Regions from separate parts of the Homo sapiens genome. Here all the other regions are linked to region 7. Evidence: promoter capture Hi-C in 16 types of primary human blood cells and fetal thymus (Javierre and others, 2016). All regions are on one chromosome and are shown on one strand. Each heading gives the region's core, a stretch centred on a gene start or on the middle of the fragment in contact. The rest is flanking DNA. Distances are from core to core; before and after follow the strand shown. Region 1 overlaps FNDC3B (fibronectin type III domain containing 3B). Region 2 overlaps FNDC3B (fibronectin type III domain containing 3B). Region 3 overlaps FNDC3B (fibronectin type III domain containing 3B). Region 4 overlaps FNDC3B (fibronectin type III domain containing 3B). Region 5 overlaps FNDC3B (fibronectin type III domain containing 3B). Region 6 overlaps FNDC3B (fibronectin type III domain containing 3B). Region 7 holds the start of PLD1 (phospholipase D1).

What was found. Contacts are between HindIII fragments. The CHiCAGO score rates a contact against its expected background, and 5 or more counts as called.
Region 1: a contact is called between a fragment that was not itself captured here and the fragment with the promoter of PLD1 in region 7, in 1 of 17 cell types (M0 macrophages). The highest score is 5.2, in M0 macrophages.
Region 2: a contact is called between a fragment that was not itself captured here and the fragment with the promoter of PLD1 in region 7, in 1 of 17 cell types (neutrophils). The highest score is 6.5, in neutrophils.
Region 3: a contact is called between a fragment that was not itself captured here and the fragment with the promoter of PLD1 in region 7, in 3 of 17 cell types (M1 macrophages, M0 macrophages and M2 macrophages). The highest score is 8.0, in M1 macrophages.
Region 4: a contact is called between a fragment that was not itself captured here and the fragment with the promoter of PLD1 in region 7, in 1 of 17 cell types (neutrophils). The highest score is 9.6, in neutrophils.
Region 5: a fragment that was not itself captured here is called in contact with the fragment with the promoter of PLD1 in region 7 in 1 of 17 cell types (neutrophils); the score reaches 5.1 in neutrophils.
Region 6: a contact is called between a fragment that was not itself captured here and the fragment with the promoter of PLD1 in region 7, in 1 of 17 cell types (neutrophils). The highest score is 5.0, in neutrophils.

Annotation. Positions count from the first base shown.
Region 1 is chr3:172,102,311-172,105,010 of GRCh38, forward strand. The region is part of intron 1 of FNDC3B (fibronectin type III domain containing 3B); the gene reads left to right. Among named protein-coding and RNA genes, the nearest start is that of FNDC3B, 64 kb to the left of the region's middle. RefSeq lists enhancers at 825-969, 1,535-1,734 and a cis regulatory region at 890-903. The HindIII fragment of the contact is 1,069 bases long and covers 798-1,866 here.
Region 2 is chr3:172,231,831-172,234,530 of GRCh38, forward strand. All of the region lies in intron 4 of FNDC3B (fibronectin type III domain containing 3B), which reads left to right. Among named protein-coding and RNA genes, the nearest start is that of FNDC3B, 190 kb to the left of the region's middle. The HindIII fragment of the contact is 6,909 bases long and covers 1-2,700 here.
Region 3 is chr3:172,139,475-172,142,174 of GRCh38, forward strand. All of the region lies in intron 3 of FNDC3B (fibronectin type III domain containing 3B), which reads left to right. Among named protein-coding and RNA genes, the nearest start is that of FNDC3B, 100 kb to the left of the region's middle. RefSeq lists an enhancer at 1,041-1,864. The HindIII fragment of the contact is 2,703 bases long and covers 6-2,700 here.
Region 4 is chr3:172,304,769-172,307,468 of GRCh38, forward strand. It overlaps FNDC3B (fibronectin type III domain containing 3B), which reads left to right. Exons shown (of 26, transcript NM_022763.4): 10 at 2,595-2,700. Among named protein-coding and RNA genes, the nearest start is that of GHSR, 140 kb to the right of the region's middle. RefSeq lists an enhancer at 811-1,105. The HindIII fragment of the contact is 9,457 bases long and covers 1-2,700 here.
Region 5 is chr3:172,173,359-172,176,058 of GRCh38, forward strand. The region is part of intron 3 of FNDC3B (fibronectin type III domain containing 3B); the gene reads left to right. It overlaps LOC124906304 (a long non-coding RNA gene), which reads left to right. Exons shown (of 2, transcript XR_007096169.1): 2 at 1-2,700. Among named protein-coding and RNA genes, the nearest start is that of FNDC3B, 140 kb to the left of the region's middle. The HindIII fragment of the contact is 2,957 bases long and covers 1-2,700 here.
Region 6 is chr3:172,279,997-172,282,696 of GRCh38, forward strand. All of the region lies in intron 6 of FNDC3B (fibronectin type III domain containing 3B), which reads left to right. Among named protein-coding and RNA genes, the nearest start is that of GHSR, 170 kb to the right of the region's middle. The HindIII fragment of the contact is 2,202 bases long and covers 154-2,355 here.
Region 7 is chr3:171,809,110-171,811,809 of GRCh38, forward strand. It overlaps PLD1 (phospholipase D1), which reads right to left and starts at 1,374. Exons shown (of 27, transcript NM_002662.5): 1 at 1,290-1,374. The HindIII fragment of the contact is 4,859 bases long and covers 1-2,667 here.

The DNA.
Region 1 (2,700 bases), core at 82-2,581, 290 kb after region 7:
TGCCCCAGCAGGCTGAAATAGCAGCTTCAAAGCTCTTCCTCCACATCTTTCCAGAAAGCAATCAGTTGTTTGGTGCTTGCAACACATTTTTTTTTTCTTCTATTCAAGGGTGTTATGCATGTCTCTTAGGTGCCCAAATTGATGCACAAATGTGAATTTGATTCGTAATAGATCTCTACAAATAGAACAATAAAATACATTTTGGATCTTATTAAAGGGCTATCTGGAAGTCATGTACTTAAGCAGCCATATCATTCATATTATACATAAAGAAACTAAGACACAGAGAGCTTACATAGGAAAACCTTGAACCACAGTCCTGAAAAGCAGTGGGACCTGTCAAAGTGCTGTGGGGTGCCAGGCAGGTGTAGTGCCCAAGGTCTGGGCAAGGGCTGGGTAAAGCGTGAGCTTCTGGCGCTGGGGAGGAGGAGCATGTGTTCTGACTTCCTGTCTCTTTCCACCTCCCCGTGCAGATTAGAATTAGACTTCCTCAAGGGGCTTTAGAAGTGATGTTTTTCACTATCTGACTACAGTTCTGTAGACTTTTCTCTCACTGTCTTACAGAAACACATAACATTTCAAATTTCACTGAAAATCTATATTTTCAGTTATTCCCATGTTTGGATGCTGTGACCAGGTTAGCTTGGGTATGTGTGAGAATAAGGGCTCATAGCTTTGGCATGTTTCCTTGTAGATACTTGACTGTCATCCTTGGGATGTCAGGGTGTGAGATGTATTGTGATATGAGTGTACCTGGAATCTAAGTGTTCTAATAAAAATGGTTAATTACGTCTGCAAGCTTATGTAAATACCACTTAAAAACAACGAACAAAGCAAACGAACCTTTGGTTGGTAAACTTTTTTTGTAGATAAGCCCCCTTTCCCTTTTAGTTAATATTTGCAAAACTGAGCTGGTATTATGTGAGGATGTGGATCTGAGGTCAAGAGATTGTGTATATATAGTGATGTAATTTTTTTCCATTTAGTTTTTATGTTTCTGTAAAATTTGGGGTATGTCGGGCTGCTATGGAAGCAACCTCTTTATATTAATAGGGGTTTACGGAAGCAGCCTCAAATTACATGTAATTTTTACTCATAATCCTTATATATATGGATTTTTCTCCCCGAGAAAATAGTGCTTTCCTGTACATTAGATTTGAGTTCAGACATGACTCTGCTTTGCCAAATTTAAAATTATGCCAAGCCAAAAATGTTTAAAAAGCATCTATGGATTCTTGAAGGCAGGGCCTATACAATAGGGACATCCATCCCCTTTTTGCACTTAAGGGCACAGTGGATGGTTCCTTTGGGCTTGTTGCTTGAACCTAGTATTTATTTTAATCTGAAGTGGTGGTGTTTTTAATCTAAAAAACTCAGTTTCACAGGATTTCTCTGTGGATTTAAATGCTCCCGACTAAATCTTTTATGCTTATAATTGGATGTAAAACGCAAGAACGTTTTTAAGGTTAAGAACTTTTTCAGACAACTGTGATTTTACTTCACTAATGAACACATATCAGACAAGAAGGCAAATTCCAGACTGTTTGTGCCTCAACCAAGCAGCTGGGCACATACCTCCAGGTACTGCTCATGTCTCAAGAGGTTTTTCTGCATGAACAATTATCACCACTCCTTCTTTCCTTCAAGTGGCAAGCCATGGCAAGAGTCTTTCTTGCACAGCTGTATAGAACTCAGCTGTAAAATTAGATTTTATTGGCATAAAAACACAGTGATTATCAGCACTGTGTGCTCAATACATTCTTTTCTCAACATTTTACTTAGATTCTTCCTTTTATGCAGAAGGCTCAAGCTGTACTTAAATGAAGGAAACAGGTTTTTAGAAGTTTTTTTATGTGTCTTTTTTTAAGCTTTAGTTTAATCAATATTAGGTATGCAGGGTAAGCAATTGGTATTGAAGGGAGGAAACATACTCCCTTAAGATCAGAAAGGAACCTTAAGGGCTAATCTATAATATTGTCATTTTATAAGAGGAAATTAATTACTGAAGTTCAGAGCTAATTATTTTATTGACAAATCCCAGATTAGAACTCATGTTTTCCAATACTCAGTGCTGGAGCCTGTCCACTATAGTTTTTTTTTTTTTTTCCAAAGTTTTTTTTAGCATAGGGGATGTGAAAAATTCTAATAACAGTTCTTAGTCCCTCTCCATATCCTTTTTTTGTGCTACTTAATTTGATTTTTTAAAAAGCAAAGGGGAATGTTTGCCTGAAGTGTACAGGAGCGATTAGCTCAAGGAAAAGCACTAAAACAACCTCTAGGTTTCTCCTGTCCAATGGCAGTGTCCCACATCAGGTTCATAATGGCGACATGCTAATTCCACATGGGCAGAGCCAATGCCAAGGCATTGGTGTAGTGTTACTGGGAAGAGAAAGAAAAGCCATATTCTCACAGTAGCAGGGAAGTGGTCAAAACAGTCAGGTGTGTGTTGATGGATGAGCAGATTTTCCCAGAATTTCAGAGGTAAAGAAGATCACATTGTGTTTCTATTTTGTTTTAATGAAATTTTTTTCCTTTTGTTGATGCTGTTGGTGTTTCCATGGTTATTATCAAAAGCAGTTTCTGGTTTTGCTGAAAGGCTAGAAATGACAACTATTTTCAGAGTTTCTAGGTCTTGAAACATCAGTCAACCTTTCAAAGCCAGCATTGATCAAGAAGGAAAGAGGTTTTTCTAATGAGGAA
Region 2 (2,700 bases), core at 104-2,603, 420 kb after region 7:
CATTTCTAAAACACCAACTGCTTGTGCATTGTATGGTCTTTATTTACCGTTTTTTTTTTTTTTTTTTTGAGATGGAGTCTTGCTCTGACGCCCAGGCTGGTGTGCAGTGGCATGATCTTGGCTCACTGCAACCTCTGCCTCCTGGGTTCAAGCAATTCTCGTGCCTCAGCCTCCCAAGGAGGTGGGATTACAGGCGCGCATCACCATGCCTGGCTAATTTTTATATTTTTAGCGGAGATGGGGTTTCATAATGTTGGTCAGGCTGGTCTCAAACTCCTGACTTCAAGTGATTCACCTGCCTCAGCCTCCCAAAGTGCTGGGATTACAGGTGTGAGCCACCACACCCTGCCAGTATGGTCTTTAATTGTAAGAAAATTGAAGAGGGAGGCAAGTAAATCAAGATTTTATGGTAATAACTCTAATCTGATTGAATAGAGAAGTTCTTGATTATAGCAGATTTGTTGTATAATTAAATAGCCGAAAGTCCTTTAAAGATAAATTAATAAAATTGGTCAAATCTGACAAAATACAAATGTCAGTAATAAGCAGATAATAAACTCCTGAAGTTTAACAGACAGCTGTGGAGGTGCAATCAACAGCACGAGCTTTGTTTTCTTAGGTTGAGAAGGGCTGAATTGGTGGACCTTACAGATAACTGTGGACTTAGGGTGCAAAAACAGTGGAATCCTGTCATTTCAGCTTGGTGGTTTCTCTGATATAGTAGGTTGGGGGATGTGGTGTGTTTTGTGCCTTATTTTTTAGTGGGATGAGAGGTAGAGGGATTCTTTTCAACTTGAGAGAAAATATAGACCTTTTTTTAAACTATGAGAAAGTGGATTTAGGTAAGTGGGAATTTAATCTTATCACAGTCATCATCTCCATTATGTAAAAGCACTTGTGAGTGTGATTAGAGTTGAAACTGAAGGAGAACATGGACGTTACCTGGAGAGGCCTTTCTTCAGATTCCATCTTGGCTACTTTCTGTGTAACTTTGATAAATTATTTCACCACATATGTGAACACCTACTTGACGTGGTAGAGGTAAGAATTAGGAGAAATGTTATGTGAGGTGTGGCACTCAGTAAGTAGTAGCTACTACAATGAAAAAGACTGTTACAACAGTTCCAATGGAAGTTTGGCAGAGCTTGCCCTCCTAAATACATATTGAAATCACATGGTGTGAAGGAAAATTTTCCTTCCATTGTATACTGGCCATGGCTCTCTGTTTTTTAACCTCACCATTAACTTTCTGAATAATTTATATGTAAAAATTTCTTAAGCAGATGCTTTGAGTTTTATTTTCCATGCTTCCGTAGTAATTTATGATACATTTGCTCAAATGTTATAGGGAAAACTTCATATTGACCCAAGGATTTAAAAAGCATATGAAGAGAAAAAGTGAAACCTCCAAGTTAATGTTCTATCATTTGGGAAACCACTCTTCTTTTTCCAGATTAACTGTTGTAATCCCAAAAGTTAGTAGTCAAAATAAATATTTTTGTTGTGAGAGCAGAAACAACAAAAATACCGCATTGGATTATTTTGGGGATTAATTAATGGGTCAGTACCTGTTGAAATTATATATATTTCATTTCCCTTAGCCAGGGAAAGACAAGAAATGTATTGAAAAATATATTTGAATTTTGGTTTGGTTGGTCATTTGCCAATGATGAGTGGAGAGCTGGCCAGAAAGCAGACACCTCTGTGGAGAAACAGTGGGGCCTGTTAGGTGGAAGCTGTGCAATACTTTCCCCCCATTTCGCTTAGCCAAGCCAGCTGAGCTATAGACATTAGCCTCAACTGCTTCCCTTTGGTAATTACAGCTGGGGATTAAACCACTGCTTTGTTTCACCTTCAACGTTGTGAAAATGATAACAGAAAGGCACATGGGGGACTGCCCTATGCCCTGAGAAACTGAGATTCAGACCCATTTGGTGGCCAATAAGGAGAATTGGATTCTCTTTCAACACTCTTGGTCCTTCAGAGGAACTGATTTCTCTATAGGAAGTTAGGGAATTGTTCCATAGTGTACATTGTGTGCATGGGGGTTGGTATTGTGTTCCATGGAAAACAGCATAGTACTTAGATATTTCGTTTCAGTTATCAATGGATTTGAAGCAATTTTATTTTTTATCTTGTGGCTTATTTTGTCCAAGGAGCAATTACAGACAGGGTTGGCAATGCTAAATTAAAGAAATGTACCAAGGACATCCCCTCCCCTCAAAGTATTGTGCAGTTTCGTCTTTCTGAGCCTTCTCCCTGTTCTGCATTTTCTCTTTGATTTCTTTCCTTTGTTTCTGTGATCCCGGCATCGTGACATAATAGAACATGGGATTAGTGGGAGGAAACGAGGGCCCAAGCGAGGCTCTACATCCAACTCTCTGTGTGATTTTAGGAATATTAAGTGATTTATTTGGGTGTGTCACTTGTTTACTTGATCATTGTCTGTCTTCCTTTTAGCATTTAAGTCCACAAAGGCAGGGACCTTGTGTGTCCTGTTCAGTCCTGTTCATCACTTGATCTCTAGTTCCTTGAAAGGTACCCAGCACATAATAGGCATTTATCAAAATTTGGCTATCTGGCTGGAGTGATTTTTATCTCATGGAGGGAAGCGGAGAGAGGAAAGTGTTTCAGGATCTCTGGGGTTCTTTTCTAATCTAAAATTAGATTATTCTCCTCTGTTCATATTATTCCTTAACA
Region 3 (2,700 bases), core at 107-2,606, 330 kb after region 7:
AATGAAGCTTGCTTTCAAAGATTGTAGTGAATCTCTGTCTTGGCTGAAATTTGCAACCAGTTTTTTGATTAAAAATATTTGGGTGATTTGAAAGTAAAATTATTGTAACATGAATGCATTAAATTCTGAATCTTTGCCAACTTTTATTATATTGGATGAATTGTTATTTGACTATTTGTAAAATGTCTGTATTATAAATGGAAATGTTTCTTCCTATTACAAGATTAGGATTTTAGGAGCTTGTTTTCTACATAAGAAACTGCCTTGAAAACCATTTCTTTTTTTTTTTGTTTTTTGAGACAGGGTATCCTGTCTCAAAAACAAAGACCTGGCTCTGAGACAGACTTGCTCTGTCACCCAGGCTGAAGTGTAGTGGCACGATCAGATCATAGCTCGTTGCAGCCTTGACCTCCTGAGCTCAAGTGATCTTCCCACCTTGGCCTCCCAAATTGCTGGGATTACAGGCATGAGCCAGTGTGCCTGTCCGAAACCCATTTCTTTAGTATTTGGTGGATTTGTGAGGGATTGCTAACAAGCTGAAATGTTATTGTGAACACTTAGGCCTCACTTGGAAAATCTTCTAGAATTGAAAATAGCAAGTCATTTGCCAAGGCTAGCCCTAGTGTCATGGCCATCTTTCTTTCTGATTGATCCAAAGCTGTATATGGTGAGAGTTAATCCTCCCAGGAGGCTCTAAGCCAAGATAGTCTGAATTTCTAGGAAAATCTGAATTACTCTACCAACTCTCCAGCTTACCTTATGATACTTAAATGTTAGCTTCAAGACCAATCAGTCTTTTACCTGTGTGTGTCTGTACTACAAATATATATTTACGTGTGTGTATATATATTTGCTTCATTAGACGATTTTTCCATTTTCCATGATTGGATTTACATGAAATTTGGAGAAAGATTGAAGAAAAATTACTTTCAGCTTTGTGGAGTACTCTTGATCTCTGAAATGTTTGGGGGCTCTATTTTGCACATGACAGTTAGCAATTCCTCTCAACATGGACTGATGCACAGCTATTTGTTACAAGTAGACATTCCATACGCTGACCTGAGAAACCCTTTTACAGACAGCAGCTTGCTGCTGAGTAACTGGAAGTTTACCAGCAGGTGGTTTCCACCAGGGCCGGAAAATACTGACGGGCCCAGAGCAGAAAGTCCAGGTTATGGAAGGAATGAGAGCAAAGGCTGTGATTGTACGTGCAACTGTCATCTTGCTGGGATTGTGTAATGTCATGAGGCTGGGTTACGTCAATACCAAACTATGTTGCTTTCCTAGGAGGTTTTAAGTCCCTCTCAAGGGAGGTACTCAGGGTATATGCTGCTTCCTGCCTTTCTCCTTCTTCCTGTCTCAGTTATCTTGATTTTTATGTTTATTCTTATATTTACATAAGAACGGAATGTTAAACCCTTAGATAAAACTGTCACCCAATGTTGTGTCATCAGACTTAAGATGAATTGGTGTTGAGTTCTCAGAGTACAGCTCTGTAGTGTGAATCCCTGGTCATTTCGTAGCTAATGCTTAACCTGTTAGCCCCAATTTCCTCTCTTAAAATGGGAACAATGATAGTACCTATCTGATAGGATTGTGAGGATAATCCATTGTAAGTGTCATTATTCTTATCATCATTATCTAGTTGTATACACAGCTTTACTGATTTTTCCCCCCCCTAAATAGATGGCATGATTGTGGGCAATGACTTCATTTTCCTACTTGTAGAAATCAGTTGAAATTCTAGTCTCCCTTTCATTGCTTATTTATGATAGACTTGCTTTCATAGGGTTGCTGGTGATGGCACCAGTTCAAACATTTTAGATGAAGGTTTATAAGAATGTGTATACTGTTCAGATATGGGGTTATAGCTAAAACAATGGGTCCAGTGTTCCATGAATTTAAAGTAAATTTTGTTGTAGATTTTTAGTTGTTGGTTTTCTTTTGAATAACAGCCGTTCACTCTTGCACCACGCCTGAGCAGCTATATTCAGAGAAGGCTGTATCCTCTTATTTTATCCAACAAAGCAGTTTTTCTAATGTGCCTCCTTTTACATTTTCATTGAATTCCATACTTCTGGCTGGGCATAGTGGCTCACGCCTGTAATCCCGACACTTTGGGAGGCCAAGGTGGGGCAGATCACCTGAGGTCAGGAGTTTAAGTCCAGCCTGGCCAACATGGTGAAACCCCATCTCTATTTCCCCCTAAATACCAAAATACAAAAATTAGCTGGGCTTGGTGGTTGGCACCTGTAATCCCAGCTACTCAGGAGGCTTGAGACAGGAGGATCACTTGAACCTGGGAGATGGAGGTTGCAGTGAGCTGAGATCGTGCCATTGCACTCCAGCCTGGGAGACAGAGTGAGACTGCGTCTCAAAAAAAAAAAACTTGTTTCCATACTTGTTAAAATTTTTATTTAGTGCATTCTGTTTCTTAGGCAGTACCAAGAAGCAGTCAGGGCTATATATTGGGAAGATCATTATAGATTTTGGAGTGAGATTGCCTGGCTCAAAAATCCCCTGCACATTAGATGTATATTGTAAAATTAGTTCCTTAACTTCTCTACACCTCAGTTTCCTTATCTGTAGAGCTGGAATAGTAATTTCTCTCTGGAAGGATTGCTGTGATTAAATGAGTTATTGTGTACAGAGCACTAAGAACAATTTCTGAGTCATAGTAGGGGCCCAATAAATAGGAGT
Region 4 (2,700 bases), core at 138-2,637, 500 kb after region 7:
TGCCTGTAATCCCAGCCACTCAGGGGGCCGAGGCAGGAGACTCACTTGAACCTGGGAGGCAGAGGTTGCAGTAAGCTGAGATCATGCCATTGCACCCCAGCCTAGGCGACAGAGCGAGACTTCATCTGAAAAAAAAAAAAAAAAAGCCAAGTGTTGCTAAAACCTTGAGTTTTTAAGAGAAGCCAGAAGTTTGGTTTTTAAAATGAGAGCGCTCCAGATATTTTTCAGTGAAGGCTTAATTTTTACTTTTTTATTTCAGAAAATGTTAGATATAGTCAGAAGTAGATAGTAGTTTAGATAGTAGTAGTTTAATGAACTCTCATCACTCAACTTCTGTTACCTCATTGTCCTCACTTACCTCTCCCCTGCCCTGATGATTTTGAAGTAAGGTTCAGACATCATATTATTTCACCTATAAACTATATTACCATCATCACACACACCTGAAATGTCTTCACAATCCCGGGACTGTTCCCATTTCCTCAGTTCTAAGAATGAAGATTTTGTTTCTTTAGTTTGTTGTAATTGGAATTCAAATGTGTGAATATGTGGTTTGGTTGATATGTCTTAAATATATTTTAATCCATTCATTTTTCCCTTTATCTTTTTCTCTTTCTTGCAACTTGTTTGTTAGATTAATTTGTTTGTCCTGTAGAGTCTTCCACAAGTATGAGTTTGGCTGACTGCATCCGTGTTGTGTTGCTTAATATTGTTCTCCTGTCCTCTATATTTCCCATAAAGCAATGAAGAGGTTTAATCAGATACAGGTTCAGTTTTTCTGCCAAGACAGTTTTGTAGGTAGTGACATAGTCCTTTATTAGGAATGCATGGTGTCTGGTTGTCTCTTTTTGTGATGGTCATTGCCTGTATCTTTTAATTCATAGGTGGCTCTAATACTTCAAAACATTATGTTTTTGCACACTGCCACCACACATACACATGTGTCTTGGGTCAGATGCAACCCATGAGTCACCTGTTGGAGAATTCTGTGTATCAAAGTTCAGGCTTGAGCCCTGCCCATGTCTGGAACATGTTGTGATTCATTTAAAGTAACTTACTCCCAGTGAGCCCATCCTGACACAGGGAAATGATCTTACCAGATCTACCATTTAGTTTTATATTATCACGTGCCTACTTACAGTGCGTGCAAAAAGGACCTTTTCCTTCATCAGGGGTTGGGTGGAGAGCATCCCAATGATAAGCATTATTTGTTTGGATCAAATTTCATGCTGTCCTCCCATAAGGCAAATAGATCAAATATGTAATATGTATGTATTTTTATCTTTTGAGGTACAAAGTAGACATATCTATTAGTGCCTTTGACGTATGGCCTCTATGAATTTTTCATGATGGACTTTGTGGAGAAATGACTTTGCAAATCACACACACACTTGGGACCTATCTTCCATAATGTTGTTATCTTTACCTGTTGTTTGTGTTCATTGGGTAGGGCTAAGGGAAGTGGATTGTGGTGTTTAGAGGAACATGATTGCAGGATGAACAAGGGGAATAGGCAATACCGTATATACTGGTTAGACTTCCAGGGATAAATACCATTGATCCAAATTTCTAACTGTGTGGCCTTGGGAAATGTACTTCATCTCTGTGTTTCCTTCTGTCTGCAATGGGTAATAAGATTTCCCTACCTCAGAGAGGGTGGCTATAAGAATTAAGGGCTCAATATCTATTTGCCAACTCTGTGAATAGTTTAATCCTTGCATCTGTTTTAGGCAGCAAAGTGTTCTTTGTTGTTGTTGTTTTTTAAGAGTACATTTTCAATTTTGAAAAAATAAATTCCCAGTATAAAAAATGGAATAGTAGGAAGATGATAAAAATCAGCATAGCCCTATTTTATGCTATTTGAAGAGTGTGGCATTAATAGTATGTTCTATGCTTTTTCTTCATGGCTTCTCTGGAGAAATCAAGCACATATGTTGCAGTGTTGAGCCAAACATTTTAGTGTACAGACCGAACATCTTTAATCTTGGCTTCATGTATAAGAGTTAAATATTCACGTGGATTAAACTGTACCTGAACATTGTTTTTGTGGAATTAGAGAAAGTCACACTTGTTAGCTTCTCTGTGAAACATCCCTAGTTTTACATAAATGTGTACAGTATTAAATGTAGTTCAAAGATGGTATCTACCCTGTTTGTACTTTTATGCTTTCTCTCCAGTCTGTGACCTCTTATTACTGTTTCTTTTGCCTTTTTATCCAGCTCTTAACTCTTAGCCTTTTTCCAGATAAAGTCAACCAGAGAGTAGCTCATGGGGTTTTAGAACATATATTTGGAGATCGTTCTGGGGTTAAGGTTTATTTTCTTACTTAGAATAATCTCTTCTAGTCAGTAGATCCTGCCTATCTTGAAATGGAGCTGGGTGGCACACACTGAGACAAATACCTGTTGGGATGACTGTCCCCTGTTAATGCTAACCATAGGTCAGGACAAGACCAACAGATAAGAGCAAGAGCATGATACTCACTCCGTAAGAAATTCTGTTCATCTACAGAAAGCCTTAGGGTGAAACAAAGATAAGAATCCTGGTCTTCTATGATGAGTCACTGCCACTGACTGTGTCTGTTTTGTTTTCAGGGTGTATGCCATGTACAATTCCGTAAAGGGATCCTGCTCCGAGCCTGTTAGCTTCACCACCCACAGCTGTGCACCCGAGTGTCCTTTCCCCCCTAAGCTGGCACAT
Region 5 (2,700 bases), core at 149-2,648, 360 kb after region 7:
CCTTAATAGAGACTTCTCTATGAAGTTACAAGAAGTAAACAACCATATGGAAGAATTTGATGTGTTCTTTGAAGTCACTGCTTGTAAGAGAAGACAACGTGTAATTTTTGAGTTACTGTATGACTCACGTTGGAAATGTTTAAAGCCTTCTGTAGGCATGGTGTGGTGGCTCACACCTGTAATACCAGCACTTTGGGAGGCCGAGGCGGGAGGATCACTTGCACTTAGGAGTTTGAGACCAGCCTGGGCAACATAATGAGACTTTGTCTCTACAAAAAAAAAAAAAAATTAAAAAAATTAAAAATAAAAAAAATTAGCCAGGCATAGTGGTGCATACCTGTAGTCCCAGCTACTCAGGAGGCTGAGGTGGGAGGATCTCTTGAGCCTGGGATGTCAAGGCTGTTTGAGTTGTGATTGTGGCACTGTGTTCCTGCTTGGGCAACAGAGCAAGACCCTGTCTGGGGGAGGGGTGGGGCGCGGGGTGGGAAGCCTCCCGATGTCCTAGGAATAGAAGGCTTTTGCTGTTGCAGGAGTACTGAAATGGAATAGTAGGAGCTGCCAGTGAAACTCATTCAGTGTTGATGTAGCATGTTTTAAGAATGTGTTATTTACGGGGAAAACTCTCGAGTTCGTCAGCGAACTGAGAATCCATTCATGGGTGCAGAAAAAGATGCCCATTGCGGGAAATGTGTCTGTACTCTGTGGCACCTCCTTAGGTGGGAGGAATGTGGTGGGGGCTGTGAAGACTGTGCCACTTTCACACCTCTGCATGCAGAATGACTCTCATTCTCTTTTACCAAAGAGCGAATTCATTATTGAACCTGTTAGGATCCAAGGCATTCAAGCATATTTGGGGAAGACTACTCTTGTTCTCTAGAGAGACAGGTCTAAATGATTAAGTTTCCAAATACTGAGCTTATTCCAGAAATAATTTGGTTTCTGCATGCTTTGTTTTCTACAGCATGGTGAGACTGCCACTTAGTTAGACTGAGTCTTGTGAATTGAAGCCTGTTTACAAGAAGTCTGACATACACACTATTATTTTTAGCCTGAACAACATGAAAACCATCTATTTAAAACTCCCAAATCTGAATGACAGTCTCATCTTGCTTAAAATTCCTTCTAGTACTTTTTAAGCCAACAGAAAGGAACATATAAACAATTTGTTAATTGCAACAGCTGGTCCCTGAGTATCTTTATGTTAATGTTTGGAATCTTTGAATTTGAAAGACTTTTAGAAAGAGCATCTGGATTAATGTAGTGCTATTCAGACTTCAGTCTTGAGAAGTGGAATCGACCTCATCAAGACAAACAAACAGGGGCCTTATACAGATTGGGAGGGCGACAGCAAAGGCATGGTGAAATTTCTTTAAAAATCTTAGTAGAGAATGAAGACAAATGGTCTCGGTTTGGTTGTGGGTGAATAGCCTCTTATTTAATTTAGTATGATGTTTATCTAGCTGCTGTGGTAAATGAGGTGAAATCTTTTGTGTATACAGTTAATTCCCAATTATTCATACATGCTTTAGCCAAATTGCTGATTCTCTGTGGACTTTGGAGACCTTCCCCCCGCCACCCCCCCCCCCCCAATACAATTTGCTGTCCATCCGGTCCCATGTCCTAGTTTCCTCTCTGGCCATGCTTTCTCACAGGGGTTCCCAGTTGCTCTCCTCATTTCCATCTTTGCTCCCTGACCAGGCCCCTGCTGCTTTTGCTTTCTCGCTGCTTTTGCTTTCTCTGCTGCATTCCCTGGATTTGTCTGACAGTCCAGGGTTCTTGTCTCCTTGCCGTTGTCTCTCTCAGTCATCTCAGAGTGGTAATAGAGAAGCTAGTTGATGGCCAGGGAAAAGCTACAGAGAGCTAATGTCTGCTGCTCCTTGCTTCTCTTCCTGTCACCTTTGGGCCTTTGTTGAATGAACAAGTGGAGAGTAAGTAGAGAAAGGGGTTTCCTGAAACATTTCCAGCCTGTTCTTTTAAGTGCTTTTTTTCCTCAGGATTTTATAGTCCTATACGTGGTAGGTAGGCGGATGGGCGGGTGGTGGGGGAGGTATTACAGCAAAATGCTTACATATTCTTTTCACCTCTTGTTTTCTTTTTTGTTCTCAACTGGGACCTACTATTCTCCTCCCCATTGCTGAAAGGCAAATTCTTAGAAAGGGGCCATTTAGAGTATGTGTAGCTGAAGAACCTCAAATAGTTCTTCATTTAGCAAATATTTAATTTCTTGAGTTCTTTTTATGTTTTGAATATTCTTAGAGATACGAAAATGAATTTGATGTAGATTCTGCCCTTAAAGGGGTTTAAGTAAAATCTAGAAGCAGAATTTACACAGACAACCACACAGAAAACCCTAAATCTAAAGCCGATATGTAAACACATGATTACCATAGTAAGTGAGAACCTTGTACCGCGTTGGAGAAGTGTGAAGGGTCTCCCCAGAAGACATTGTTTTTCCTGGGGAGGGGATCACAGTAGTACAGATGTGAAAAATCTGCCCTAATATTTTTTGTTTGCACTATGTGGATGGAAATGAAAACTTACCTGTAACAAACAGTTTTATCTATAGAATGTTTTATAAGCCTATTTTTGTTCCTTTTCTATTATATGTCTACACAGAATATAAATTTACCCCATCAGGTGAAAGCTCAGCATAGGTGTGCAAGCCCCACTTGGCTAAAATATTGGTTAGAGCAATAAAAT
Region 6 (2,700 bases), core at 5-2,504, 470 kb after region 7:
TTCAACTCCTCGGGTTCTAGCGATCCTCCCACCTCAGCCTCCCAAGTAGTCGGGACTACAGGCATGTGCCACCAAGCCCAGCTAATTTTTGTATTTTTCGTAGAGATGGGGTCTTACTATGTTGCTTAGGCTGGTCTTGAACTCCTGGGCTCAAGCTTTCTGCCCGCCTTGGCCTCCCAAAGTGCTGGGATTACCGGCATGAGCTACCACATCCAGCCATCAACACACATTCTTAATATTGTTTTCTTTTGTCCCCATTCATGCTTATCAGCATTAGTAGGCATTGACTAGGTATCTAGCTTGTCCTTATTATTGAGTAGTCACATTTTTCGTTTTCACCTAAAATTATTTATTTCTGTTTCTTTTTTGTTTGTTTGTTTTCATATTGATTGTTTACTGTTGGCTTTAGGCTTCTTATCTCCAAAATGAGCATGATCAGAAGCCACACATTTTCCACGCCCCTAGTTCATTATACATGATTTGTTAAAGAGAGTAGCTATGTCAGCTCCTTGGCAGATCTGAGAAAGCATATGATGTTATGACAGGGATATCTACAAATGAGCCTTGTGGATAAGAACTAGACAGAAGGTTTAGAGAGAAATAATGTTGATGTCATCCCATTGGAATGATAGAGCTGTTACAACCAGAAATACATTCTATAGCTAGTAGCTAAGTGTGTAGCTCTATTTCTTTTCTAAGAAGGAAAAAATGTGAAATAAACCAAAGAAGTAAAGTATGTTTATAAAGGAGGATATTTTAATTAGTTTAGGTCTTAACAGTTATTCAAACAGTCTGAACTTAGGTTTCTTTTTGGAGCAAACATGAAAACCATTATTTATGGAAAATTTAAATTTCACATGACACATCTTCCCTCTATGTGTGTGGGTTTTTTCTTTCTTTCTTTTTTTTGAAAAAAACTATTTGCTTTGCTTGTGTATTTTTATTTCAACCTTCCTTTTACTAAAAATGCTTTATTTCCTTGGTGTAGGAGATTTGTTTTTAGGGAAAAGAAAGACTTGTGTCTCTAAGCTGAGCCCCCTTTCCCTTTTTTAGCATTTCCAGATAGGCTGGTTCTCAGCTGACCATGTTTGAATTAGAGGCGCCCAACTTAGCTCCTTTTCAAAAACTTTCCTACCATTAAATGTGCCTATATCTGCAAAACAAAATGCCCCTTCTCTGTGTGAAACACTATACAAGAGTGCCTTATTATTATTATTTATATTTATTTATTTATTTATTTATTTATTTATTTATTTATTTATATTTTGAGACGGAGTCTTGCTCTGTTGCCCAGGCTGGAGTGCAGTGGCACGATCTCAGCTCACTGCAACCTCCACATCCCGGGTTCAAGCGATCTCCTGCCTAAGCCTCCTGAGTAGTTGGGATTGCAGGTGTGCGCCACCACGCCCGGCTAATGCCATTCAACTGCTAAGAAGGCAGCAATGTAGAAAATGGTTTTCATGTTCATTTACCCCAGCCGTGGTCACCAGCAAGGTGGAATCAGGTGGAAAATGGTTTCGATCTGTTTACTTACGTTGTGGCTGCTTCAGTGTAAGGAATAGGAAATATAGGGTTTGCTTACATGATTTTGTCTAATTTATTTACTGCACACCAGAAGGTGGAAAATAGCCCCTGAGAATGAAGAATAAGAAACTTGTCCTCTGACCTTGCACCAGAACCTTGCATTTGTGCACTTCTGGGGCAATCTCTTGTTTAGTTGGCTCACACCAAGTACCAAGTTCTTAAGAGGGGAAGAAACAAAAACCAGACAGAGTTTTCAGCTTGAATAAAAGAAGCTACCCTAAAGGCAAATCAGCAGAATTTTTTTGTTTTGTTTGCTTATTTTTGTGAGGGGATCAGTTATTCTTCTTTCCTTCACAATATGGGAGGTGTGTGCATGAGAGAGACAGGAGAAAAAAAACAAAAAAAAAGAAAACATGCCACCAAACAATAGCTTCATCCAAACTCTGACATACACTCTTTGTACAGCTGGGCTCTGAAACTGTTTTATGGAAAGAGTGGTCATTCAGTGTACTTCGAGGCACGCTTAGATCATGCTTAGGGTGAGATAGGCCAAGGGCTTAGTTAACTCGCTTATTTAGGTCGTAGAGATGTGAATTTTGACATTTTCATACTAGACTGTTAGCTTTCGTACAAGAGTTGATCGTTTATGTGGGAAGTAACTGTCACTTTAAAACAAATTTTATTTTTACTCTTGTTTGGTGCAAATTGTGTCCCTGGGTTTTATTTACCTTTTCCTTCTTAGTCTGTGGCAGCACGAATGGAAAAGCATTACATTAAATAAATGTAATATAAGTGCATTTTTCTCTCTTTTTTCCCATATTTACAATTAGAAGCTTGAAAGAAGACAGAATTCCATCTGGCCTTGGTACCACGTTTCTCCTAACATGAGGGGCTAGTGACCAGACACGATAGGGCAGTGATTGCTTTGTCACTGCCTTCCCTCCCCATGCCCTGCCATTTTTATTTTTGATCTTCTCAGAATCCTTTGTTTATTTGGCCCCATTCAAGGCCCACTTTTTAAATTCTTCCTTTCTTCATATACATTCCCAGCAGATAGGTGGCCTTTGCTCTATTCATTTGACAACCTTTTCTAAGTTAAAAGCAAATAAGAAAACCAACATAAACCTTCCCATAGGACTGAGCAGATCTCCTCTGCTGCCTTCTCTTTCTCCCATC
Region 7 (2,700 bases), core at 124-2,623:
TCACCGCGCCCAGGCAGCACTCCAACTTTTTATATGGATTGTTAACTGTACTGGTTCTTGAGAAGCCAGACTGAGCGCTTATACAATTAGTCCAAAGATCCCCAAACAACATTTAAAGGCTGTCTACAAATTCAAGCTAAAAGACTGTGTACAAATTCATTTGTGTGTCACAAAACATTTAATACTGAAAGAGATTCTTATTCAAATAGGCAGTGTGTAAATGTGGGGTCTGTTAACAGTTCAAATTGCAGATTCCTTTCCTTCTTTAAGTTTTCATTGCACCACCACGAACTAAACCATTTAACATACCTCAGAGGTCTCTGGGTACCTAGTCTCTCAGAGGCCTTTGGAGGCCCACGAAGGCTTATCTTAACTAAAATTGGCAGGGCTGGCTGATAAAGTTAACGGAACTCCCCATTTTGGAGGCAGACTTAGTAATGGTCAAACGAAGAAACTGTTGTGGTCTGTTCTTAAAAAGCTACTAGTATTTAGTGCTTCACAGAGGAAGTAAAGAAAGCAATAATCCGAGATGAGGAGGAGCAAATACAGGCGTGGCGGTAGTTCAGGACTGAGTCTACAAGGGCGGTTCTCAAGGGCGTCACAAAATCCTATGGAAGGCTTGGAGGACGGCACTCCTGGATCTGAGCCCTACGTCCCAAACACCTTCAATCGTATTGTGAGGAAGAAGACCTTTTACACACTCCCTGCTGCTGGCCCCCGGCCCCCTCGCCCCACCTCCGAGTGGTCACATCACACGGCGGGAGCCGCGGTCAGCAGCTGTGATCACACCCCCAGGACCGTGCTCTGCGGGCTGGGCTCGAAGCCTTGGGACGCGGCACTTCCTGGTTGGTACGGGATGCCGGTCCCATCGCCCCCACCAGCCCAGTCATGCCACCGCGCACCCGAACCAAGGGCGCCCGGATGACCTGGGGACACCACACACACTGCACCCGAAGCCCTGTGGCGGCGAGGCGGTGCATCCTGCAGAGGACGCCTGGGCTTCAGCCTGAGCCTGCGCGGCTCTGCGCTCCAGGCAGCCGCCCGCGCGGCAAAAGTGCGTGCCAGAGTTGTCAGCTTTCACCCTGCAGGAATTCCACCCGAAGGCGTGCGAGGGAGGCCCTTGGGGATCGCTAGGGAGTCCGCCGCCGACTCACTCGCTGAAATCCCGTCCAAGTTGGGCGGGGAGCGGCCAGCTGCCCAGGTTGGGCGGAGGAGGGACGGAGGGCGAGGGCAGTGGAAACCCGGCTCCCACGGGCGCCCGGTGATCCGGGTCTCGGCGCGGCTCCTACCTGCAGGGCGAAGGGGCCGCTAGCACCTGCGCGTTGGCGGCGGACTCTCAGGGCTCGGGTGCCTCTGGCACAGCTGGAGCTCAGCGGGAGGGAGGGAGAGAGGGCGGGCCGGAGGGGGCTCTGCGCTGCGCGGCCGGCAGGAACTCTCCGCCCGGATTCGCCCCGGATTCGCAGGGGTGGAGCGAGGCGGTGCCAGGTCCCGGGGCGTCGCGGTGCCGGCTGGAGGCCCCAGCGGGGCAGGTCTCGCGACTGGGCCTCTGATCGCCCGCGTTCCTTGTTCTCTTTTCCCAAAGTTTCATAACTCGACCGCATCACCCTAGGGAATGCTCGCTATTAGGACCATTATCAGGTCCTCTCGAGCCGCCAAGGACCAGCCACCTTTCCCGGAGCTTTGCCTATGATATCTATTCTTCGACTACTGCGGATAGTAGCCACAACTGGTCCAACTTATAAGTAAGGAATCAGCAAATCAAACGGCTAAATAACTTGCCTGAGGTGACATAATTAAGAGACTGGAGCTTTGCTGGAGTCTTTATAAGCCTTCTTGCACCTCCTTAGGGAAGTGTTATCGCCAATTTACAGGTAAGGAAATGAAGGCTCAGAACCAGCCCGAGGTCACACAGCTTAGATGGAGGGGGACGGGAATTTGTGTCCCGATGTCTCTAAAACTGGTTATAATTCAGAAATCTTAGCATAAAATAATAAATTGGGAGCAAAACAGGGAAAAGACCCATTCCACCTATGGAACCGTTCAAACACGGCAATTTTGCTGTTTTCAGTCCACTTAGAATAAAGTCTTAAGAAAAAGAGAACCAGTTGTCATGTGGCTTGAATAGCAGCCCTTTGGGAATGTAATTTTGAATATAGGCCAGTTCCAACCTCATTACACGATATTGCATCCCGCCAAAGCCAGGGGAAGCAATGGCCTCCCCATGCACCAAACTGCTAATAACGTCAGCCACTTTAAAGCATTTAGTGGATATTACACAACTGCGACTGACCAAGTTACATAATGTCTTACTGCACACATGGCATTGCATGAAATGAAAAATATAATATACCAGTCCAAATTAGGGGAGGGGGGCCAAATTATAGTCTGGAACTCAGTTTTCCTGTAACCTACAGTTGCTCAGCCCTCCTTAGACCACATTTTTGTCTCTTGAGCACATCTTTTCCTAATGATAGAAGAGTCACACAGCCCTCACTCTTTCCTTGTTGACATAAATGATTGATGTCTTTTGAATCCTATGATACTGACAGATTTTTACAATTAAACACATGACTCTCTGAGCAGAGTATTGCCTAAGAGGAGTTTAGTAAGTTTCAGACAAGCATGTTACTGGAAGGCAGAATACCCTCTCTCCTCCCCTCTTTCTCAAGCTTTATTAGTCACAGATGGTCTGATAAGTCT